Regions from separate parts of the Homo sapiens genome. Here region 2 is linked to region 1. Evidence: promoter capture Hi-C in 16 types of primary human blood cells and fetal thymus (Javierre and others, 2016). All regions are on one chromosome and are shown on one strand. Each heading gives the region's core, a stretch centred on a gene start or on the middle of the fragment in contact. The rest is flanking DNA. Distances are from core to core; before and after follow the strand shown.

Evidence for each region. Contacts are between HindIII fragments. The CHiCAGO score rates a contact against its expected background, and 5 or more counts as called.
Region 2: a contact is called between the fragment with the promoter of TRIB2 here and the fragment with the promoter of CIMIP5 in region 1, in 2 of 17 cell types (fetal thymus and neutrophils). The highest score is 12.3, in fetal thymus.

Annotation. Positions count from the first base shown.
Region 1 is chr2:11,131,413-11,135,097 of GRCh38, reverse strand. CIMIP5 (ciliary microtubule inner protein 5) reads right to left here and starts at 1,970. Exons shown (of 3, transcript NM_001371321.1): 1 at 1,507-1,970. The coding sequence starts at 1,763. FLJ33534 (Putative uncharacterized protein FLJ33534) reads left to right here and starts at 2,922. Exons shown (of 9, transcript NR_040080.1): 1 at 2,922-3,083. The HindIII fragment of the contact is 3,513 bases long and covers 1-2,392 here.
Region 2 is chr2:12,715,558-12,718,923 of GRCh38, reverse strand. It overlaps TRIB2 (tribbles pseudokinase 2), which reads right to left and starts at 1,988. Exons shown (of 3, transcript NM_021643.4): 1 at 347-1,988. The coding sequence starts at 616. It overlaps LOC124905974 (a long non-coding RNA gene), which reads left to right and starts at 2,166. Exons shown (of 2, transcript XR_007086222.1): 1 at 2,166-3,366. RefSeq lists enhancers at 1-159, 1,521-1,590, 1,439-2,078 and silencers at 2,031-2,090, 2,181-2,400. The HindIII fragment of the contact is 5,863 bases long and covers 1-3,313 here.

The DNA of each region.
Region 1 (3,685 bases), core at 721-3,220:
GGATGAGCTCTTGCTCTATTAGTTCACAGGAGAGAGCTGGTTGTTAAAAAGAACCTGACACCTCCTCTCTCTCTGTCTCTCTCTCTGTCTCTTGGTCCCTCTTACCATGTGACATGCCTGCTCCTCCTTCACCTTCTGCCATTATTGTAAGATTCCTGAGGCCCTTACCAGAAGCCAAGTGGATTCCAGGACTATGCTCGTACAGCCTGCAGAACTGTGAGCCAAATAAACCTCTTTATAAATTACCCAGCCTCAGGTGTTCCTTGACAGCAATGCAAAATGGACTAAGATATCCATTTTTGAGAATTTCTCCAAAAGAACTGAAATCACTCCCATGCCCATTGTAGCACTACACATAATAGTCAAATGTGGAAGCAACCTAAAAGTCCATTGACAAATGAATAAAGAAACTGCACACATATATACATTCACCCTTAAAATGGGAGGAAATTCTGCGATATGCAACAAGATGGATGAACCTGGAGGACAGGATACTAACAAAACAGACATGGAAAGTCAAATATTGCACAATTCCACTTCTATGAGGCACTGAAAATAGACTCCTGGAAGCAAAGACTAGAATGGTGGGTGCCAGAGGCTGGGAGGAGGGGGAATGGGGCGTTGCTAATCAACGGGTATGAAGTTTCAGTGGTGCAAGATGAATGCATCCTAGAATCTATCAGGCTGCTCACTTAAAAATGTAATCGAGATCATGCCATGTTCCCGCTTAAAATCCTGGATGGTGTCTCCTTTGGAAAAAATGCATCCAGACTTTTATAAGGGCTGGGGTGGCCCCCGCTGCTCCCCCTCATCCTGTGGCCTTCCTCACTCCCTGTGCCTCAGCTACACGAATTCTTTGTTTTGTTTTTTAGATACATCAAACTCTTGGCTCCTTCTCCTATTTCATGTCTCAGCTTAAATGTCTCCTCCTCAGAGAGGCCTTCAGCCGGCTCTGCCCCCGACCCTGAACTGTTTCCTTCTTACCGCTGGTCACACTTCATACAGATTTGTACTTGTTTGCTTCTCTGCTTGCTTTTTGGCTGCCCTGTCCTGAGTATGAAGGCTCGGTGGAGCCATGGCCAGGTCTGTCTAGTCCCTTGTTGCAGTCTGGTCTCGTTTCAGAGCGGCTCATGGGTATTTTTGGTTGAATGAATGCATGAAGGAGCATCCTTTCCCCGAGTCAGGTCAGACAGCCAGCTCCTCTAACCCAGACTAGGCCAGCAGGCTCCAGCTCAAGGGATTACCGGCCGCGTCGCAGTCGGAATGAACGAGGTGGGGCTGCTCTGACCCAGCGGCATCTGGTCTTGGCTTCCATCTTCCTCGCTTCTTAGGCTCAGGCTCGGGTCTGGCTCTGGGCTGGGCTGGTGACCCACCTTCCCCCGGGCATGCCATGCCCTCTGTCCCTCAGCCAGATCATTTGCCCTCCCATCTCCCTTTCTCCAAAACCTTCCCCAACTTGCAGTCAGGCTGCGGAGTCAGGGTGGAAAAGGGAGGGCAGGTACTCACCAGCGCTGCTGGCCCCGCCGCTCGGCCTCCAGGAGCTCCCGCCACAGCTGGTCCTGCTGCACGCCATCGCAGGCAGCTCCCTGAGCCACCCGCTGCGCCTTCAGAGCCTGGGGGGCCTGGCAGCCACCAGCAAGACCCCTGCTGGCCATAGGGCCACCCCGGGCAGCTGGGGAGACCGAGGCTGGTGGCCTGGTGGGGGGCAATCGGTACCCAGCTGATGTGGTTCTCTGGAGCCCAGGGGTGGGGTGGCTCCCCATGGTGCAAGTGTGTGTGTGTGTGTGCGCTTGTGTCAGAGAGAGAGAGAGAGAGACCTGTGCCTGAGCTCAGCTCAAACCTCCTCCTGGAACACTCTGTCCCTCCTAACCCCGGGAGAGCCTGGGCAGGGTCCTCCTCACTGTCCCTTTAGGCCTCGAGCTCAGAGTGGCCGATGGGGACAGGGCTCTCCGGGCTGGGGAGAGCATTTGAGCCCAGTTTCGTTTTGAACTCCCGCCTGTGCTGTGTTGACTGTTGTCCTGGGAACGGACAGCTCCTAGGAAAGGGGCGGGCCCCGTGTGTGTGTGTGTGTGTGTGTGTGTGTGTGTGTGTGTGTGTGTGATCTGAGCCCTAGGGCTGGGGGGCAGAGAGTTCCTGACTAGATGCCACGCCCAGTTCAGCAGCCCCCTACCCCAAGGCCGGAGTCCTCCGCACAGGGTGGGGGAGGGGGAGGGAGCAAAGCTGGGGCTCCTGGGGGCCACCCCCACCATTATTGCACTTGCTTCCGGCAGCCCGTCAGGCCGTGGGGCGATGTTAGTCCTGTGCTGCCCCCTCGTGGATGCTGCGAGGCTCGCAAGAAATGGTGGCCCTGAGGGCGCTTTGGGAATTGTGGATCAGGCATCAGTGTGAAGCTTCCTGCTTGTTTGGGAACGATGGCGGAAGTCATGAGCTTATGTTGGGCGAGGAAAATGAGTGCAATGCACTAGGAACATCCACTCTGTCTGCAAACCCAGAGCGTTCACACAGCACTCTGCTTTATCTGAGACCTCCCAGCCATGCCTTTCCAACGCCATTCTACAGATGAGGAAACTGAGGCCCTTACCGGCAAGATTAAGTGACCGCCCACGGTCACACAGTCAGTCACCAGCTGAAAGGAACAGTGAGAATCTGAGGGCTTATGGTCCGAGCCCTCAGCCCTGTTTCTGCTCTAACTGGGTACAACCAGGCTCCCTCCGTGGCAGCCTCTCCTGGTCTGGCTCAGCTGAGCTCCATGGACGCCCGCTGCTCTCATCACTTCTGCCTCCTGCACTCTCTGCTTCCGGTTCTCTGAGTTTTGTGCTGTTCCGGTAGGTGCTGGCAGATTCACAGTTCCTTCCACGCAGCTTCTCTGTGGGTCCATTCAGCTGGCGCGCTGCTTCCTATCTTTGTAAGGGAAGAGCTAAGTGCAGACAAAGCCCTGACGAATAGAGGCCTGCGCAGAGTGCCCGGGGTGCAGGGCAGCAGGGCAGCCAGTGAACCACTGAGCTCGCACTGTAGCCAGTCCTGTGTGCCCCTGCTGGATTCTGCTTCTATGAGGGAGGCAGCAAGGAGTTGGGACTTCACAGGTGAAAGGACTTGCCAGGTAGAAAAACTGGGGTGACCACAAAAGCTTGGATGCAAGAGAGAGCCTGGTATTTTGGGAGATGTGGGGGAGGAGACAAGGACGGGGGTGGCAGGGCACATGGGGGCAGGCCCCGGGGTATTTTCCACGGTATCCTGCACCCAGTGGGGAGATACCGATGGGCTGTGAGCCCCAAGGGAGCTGCAGGGAACAGAACCATCAGGACAGGGGCAAAAAACAGGTGAGGTCACCATTGCCATGGCGTGGTGTGGGTGAGCAGTGGCAACGAAGCCCCTACTGGGCTCGGGCGGAGGGCTGGCGTGGAGAAGACAGGGCTGAGAGCCAGGCCAGAAAGAGCTGCCAGCTTCGTCTTCCCACACTTGCATGAGGACGGAGCTGAGGGATGGGACCTTTTGGAAAAACATTAGTCTAAAATCAGAGCTGCAGGCCTGGGACTCTGTCTCTCCTCTGTTCCTCCCCTTGGAGCTGGGATGACACAGGGTGGCATCTAGTGACTTAAATTTTCCTGGTAAAGATGAGCACAGCAGGAGTGCGGCGGGGTGGGCCTCTGTGAGCTAGGACCCTGGGTCAGGCTTTTCTGAGTGC
Region 2 (3,366 bases), core at 739-3,238, 1.6 Mb before region 1:
AGGGGGCTAGACACAGGAAGAAATCCCCCCCGGGCAGCGGGACCCGGCCTCGCGCAGAGAGCTCCTGGAGCCTTCGGTGCACGCGTGTCCGTGGCCCCCGCGCAGTCCCGCCGCCCTCTCCTCCCCGGGCTCTCCCCGAAACGCCCCCACTGCCGCCCGCCCCATTGTCTGAAACGGTCTAAAAACTTCGCAACTTACCGAACCTGAGCAAATAAATAAATAAACCCATTTAATAAGGCCACGGTAATTATCCCGCGAATCTCCCTCTCCCAGACTCGAGGGCCTGGCGCCCTCCCGCTCCCTCGGGCCCCTTCCAAAGACAAAAAGCAACCCACTGGCCCTTTACCTTGCACACCAGCTCCTCTCCGCTGTGCAGATGCACGGCACGAAAAACGTGGTCTCCCTCCAGAGGTTCCAACAATAAGTATTTCCCGATACAAGAAACGCAATGCGACAAGTTCGGAGTCTCGGGCGGGCTCGGGGAGCCGAGGTTCGGGCTGAAACTCTGGCTGGGCTCCGCGGACCTTATAGACGACAACTCTTCGAAATCCTGGGTTTTGTTCCGCGATCTCCCATATCTCGCTATTGTGATGGGGGTAGACCTGTGTATGTTCATGAGTGTGAGGATCGCACACGACAAACAAAAAAAAACCCGCTGGAGAGATGAGTCGCTGGCGAGTGCGGCTGCAGGCGCCTCGGTGCCACTGATTTTAAAAGGGAGCGAGAGGGGAGGGGACAGAAGAGGGGCTGCGTGGAGAAAGAGTTAGAAGCCCCCAAATGGGCGCCGCCGGATACCTCGTCTGCTCCGAGCCCGGCTCCCGGGGGTCCTCGGTCGGCAGGCAACTCGGGTCTTTTTGTTACCCCAAAGCAGTCGGCGATGTGCAGAATCGCCGCACTTTTAGTTACTCTGTGTGTGTGTCCCCGGCGTGGATCTGGATGAGTACCCGGGCTGCTAAGGTGCGGAGCTGCAGCGCCAGGGCTCCCGACGCGACCCCCAGGCCGGCTTCCGAATCGCAGACGGGGCGGAGGAGCCCGCGGTAGTTTGTGCAGTCTTCGGGGAGCTCACGGCGGCGACTCAGTCCCAACGCGTTAGAAGCCAAACAAAAAGAGAAAGGAAACAAGCACGGGTCTACCGGCTGGCGACGCACGGCAGCCAGAATCCGCGCTGCACCCCCTTTTTTTGGTGGAAAGGGTGGGGGGCGTGTAAGGGGGGGGTGCGGGAGAGGGCAGTTACCTACGTTTTAACTGTAGATGGCGTCTGAGGCTTTTCCAAGATCGCGAGCTCTCCAAAAATTAAACAAACAAACAAAAAAAAGAAAAATTGCAAGGGAGCATTTAACTTGGTGCGGTCAGCGCTGCCAACAAAAGATTGCAAAAGCTGGGCACAGAGTTGCGGCGCGGGCTGGGCGCAGGTACCGCGACAAAGCCCTGGGCTCGGCCCGCCGCGCGGAGGTCAGCACAGGCTCATGCTGTCGCCGCTCGCTCGCGCCCCAGGTCTTCCTCCGAATGCAGCCAGACGTGCAGGAGAGAACGAGGACAGATCGGCGGTCTCCGATTTCGCCGGCACGAGCTTGCGGGGGTCCTGCGGGCGCTGCAAGGGGAGCTGCGTCCCTGGCCCTTCCAACGCGCGGCGTTCCTTTGCCCCTTTCCCGCTGGAGAACTGGATCTCGTCCTGGAATAATTTGCAATCACCCCGTCTCCCCCTACCCCGAGACCAAATTGCCCGGTGGGGTTTGTTTTGGAGAAAATTGACGGCTTGTCTCCTCCTTCTTTGATTTCTTGCTTGCCCCCCCCAGAGAAAAGAGGGGACCGTGTATTTAAAAATTAAAGGGGACGGCCGACGGTGCCCGAGGCCAATCCCCGCGCTCAGCACGCCCGCATCCCCCGGCGAGGCGGTATTAATAGTTACTTACGTGGCCGGGGATCTCGGAGCGAGCGGGGCCGTGAGTGCGCGTGTGCGCGCGCGCGCCTCGCTCGCGCTCGGTCTCCCCATTCAATGTCACCGACACATTTCCACGGAGCCTCCGCCCCCCCCCCGCCGCCCCCGCGACTGGCTCAGCCCAGAGCCGGCCCCGCCCCGCCCCCGCCCGGGCCCCCCTCATTGCGCCGGGCGCCCATCAATCAGCCCCGCCGCTGCCAGTCCTCGGGCGGCTCCCCGCGCCGCTGCCATTGCAGCTCCGTGCCGGGGGCGCCAGCACCGGCCTCGCAGCTCCCTCGCCCGGCCGGGGAGGTAAACAAAGTGAAATATCCTTCCGCGGCCCGGGGCCCCGGGCGCAGCACCCTGGGTGTCGGCTGCGAGCCGGCTGCGAGCCCAGCTGCGGGCGGCTGGGCCGGGGTTACCAGCAGCGACTCCCGAGCCGTTCCCCACACGCTGCTCCCGCAGCGCCCGCTCCAGCTCTTCGTAGCTCGTTCATGTTCCTGGCGCTTTTCCCCAGAAAGCCAGGCACGCTCTGAGCATTGGGCCCCCAGGCTCAGATGTGGCCCTGAATGAGGAGCTCTGTTTTGGAAGAATGCGCTTTCATCGGTATTGCTGCCTGGAGTTTCGAGAATTCGTTTCATGGTATCTCTCCGACATCCTCCTCTCCATTTAAAAGGAAATCCATTGCTTCCTTTTAGTTGGTGTCACCGCTTGCCCCCGATCCCCACATCCTGGGCTTGTATTTCTAGTGTTTTCAGCAGAAGAGGAACTGAAGGCATCTTTTGATTCAGGTCAAATTTAATCACTAATTCTTCCCTTCCCAGTGCATTGCCTGGAGGGCCTTGGAGGCCAAGCTAGACAAAACTTTGCACCCACACCTCCAGGGAGCGCTGTTGGGTCCTATCCAGGGTGCTGGGCGTCCTGAGTCCTCTTCTGTTAGCCAGGTGAAGGCTGCAGTTTCACGCCCCACTCCACCCCCCATTTCGCCACCCCCCCCGAATTATTCGTAACTTCCTTGGGAGATTCCAGTCCGCGGGCTTGGACAGGAACACCGGAAGCAAGGGGCTTGAACTCAGGCAGAGGCTTCAAACGCCAGCCTTGATCTAAGATATCCTGGTGAATGAGAAGCGATCTAGTAGAGGACAAACTTAAAAAAAAAAATCCCAAGGAACTGAGAAAGGGGAGTTGGGACGACTCCTGGAGCCCTCTGAGCTTTTGCATGCGTGTAGTATATTTTCCACTGGAGGAGGGGACTAAATTATTGTCCACTGTAGGACACTTTCAGTAAAAGAAGGGAGCTATTTATAATTATGTCCACTTGGGACAACAGTCACTCTAATGATCAGGAGTCCTGGGAATGTGGCCAGAGATGGAGAGGACATTGACTATAAAGCTTCCACCCAGCAGCACAGAGTTAAAAGGAAGGTTAAGAAGTGGACCCGTGCCTT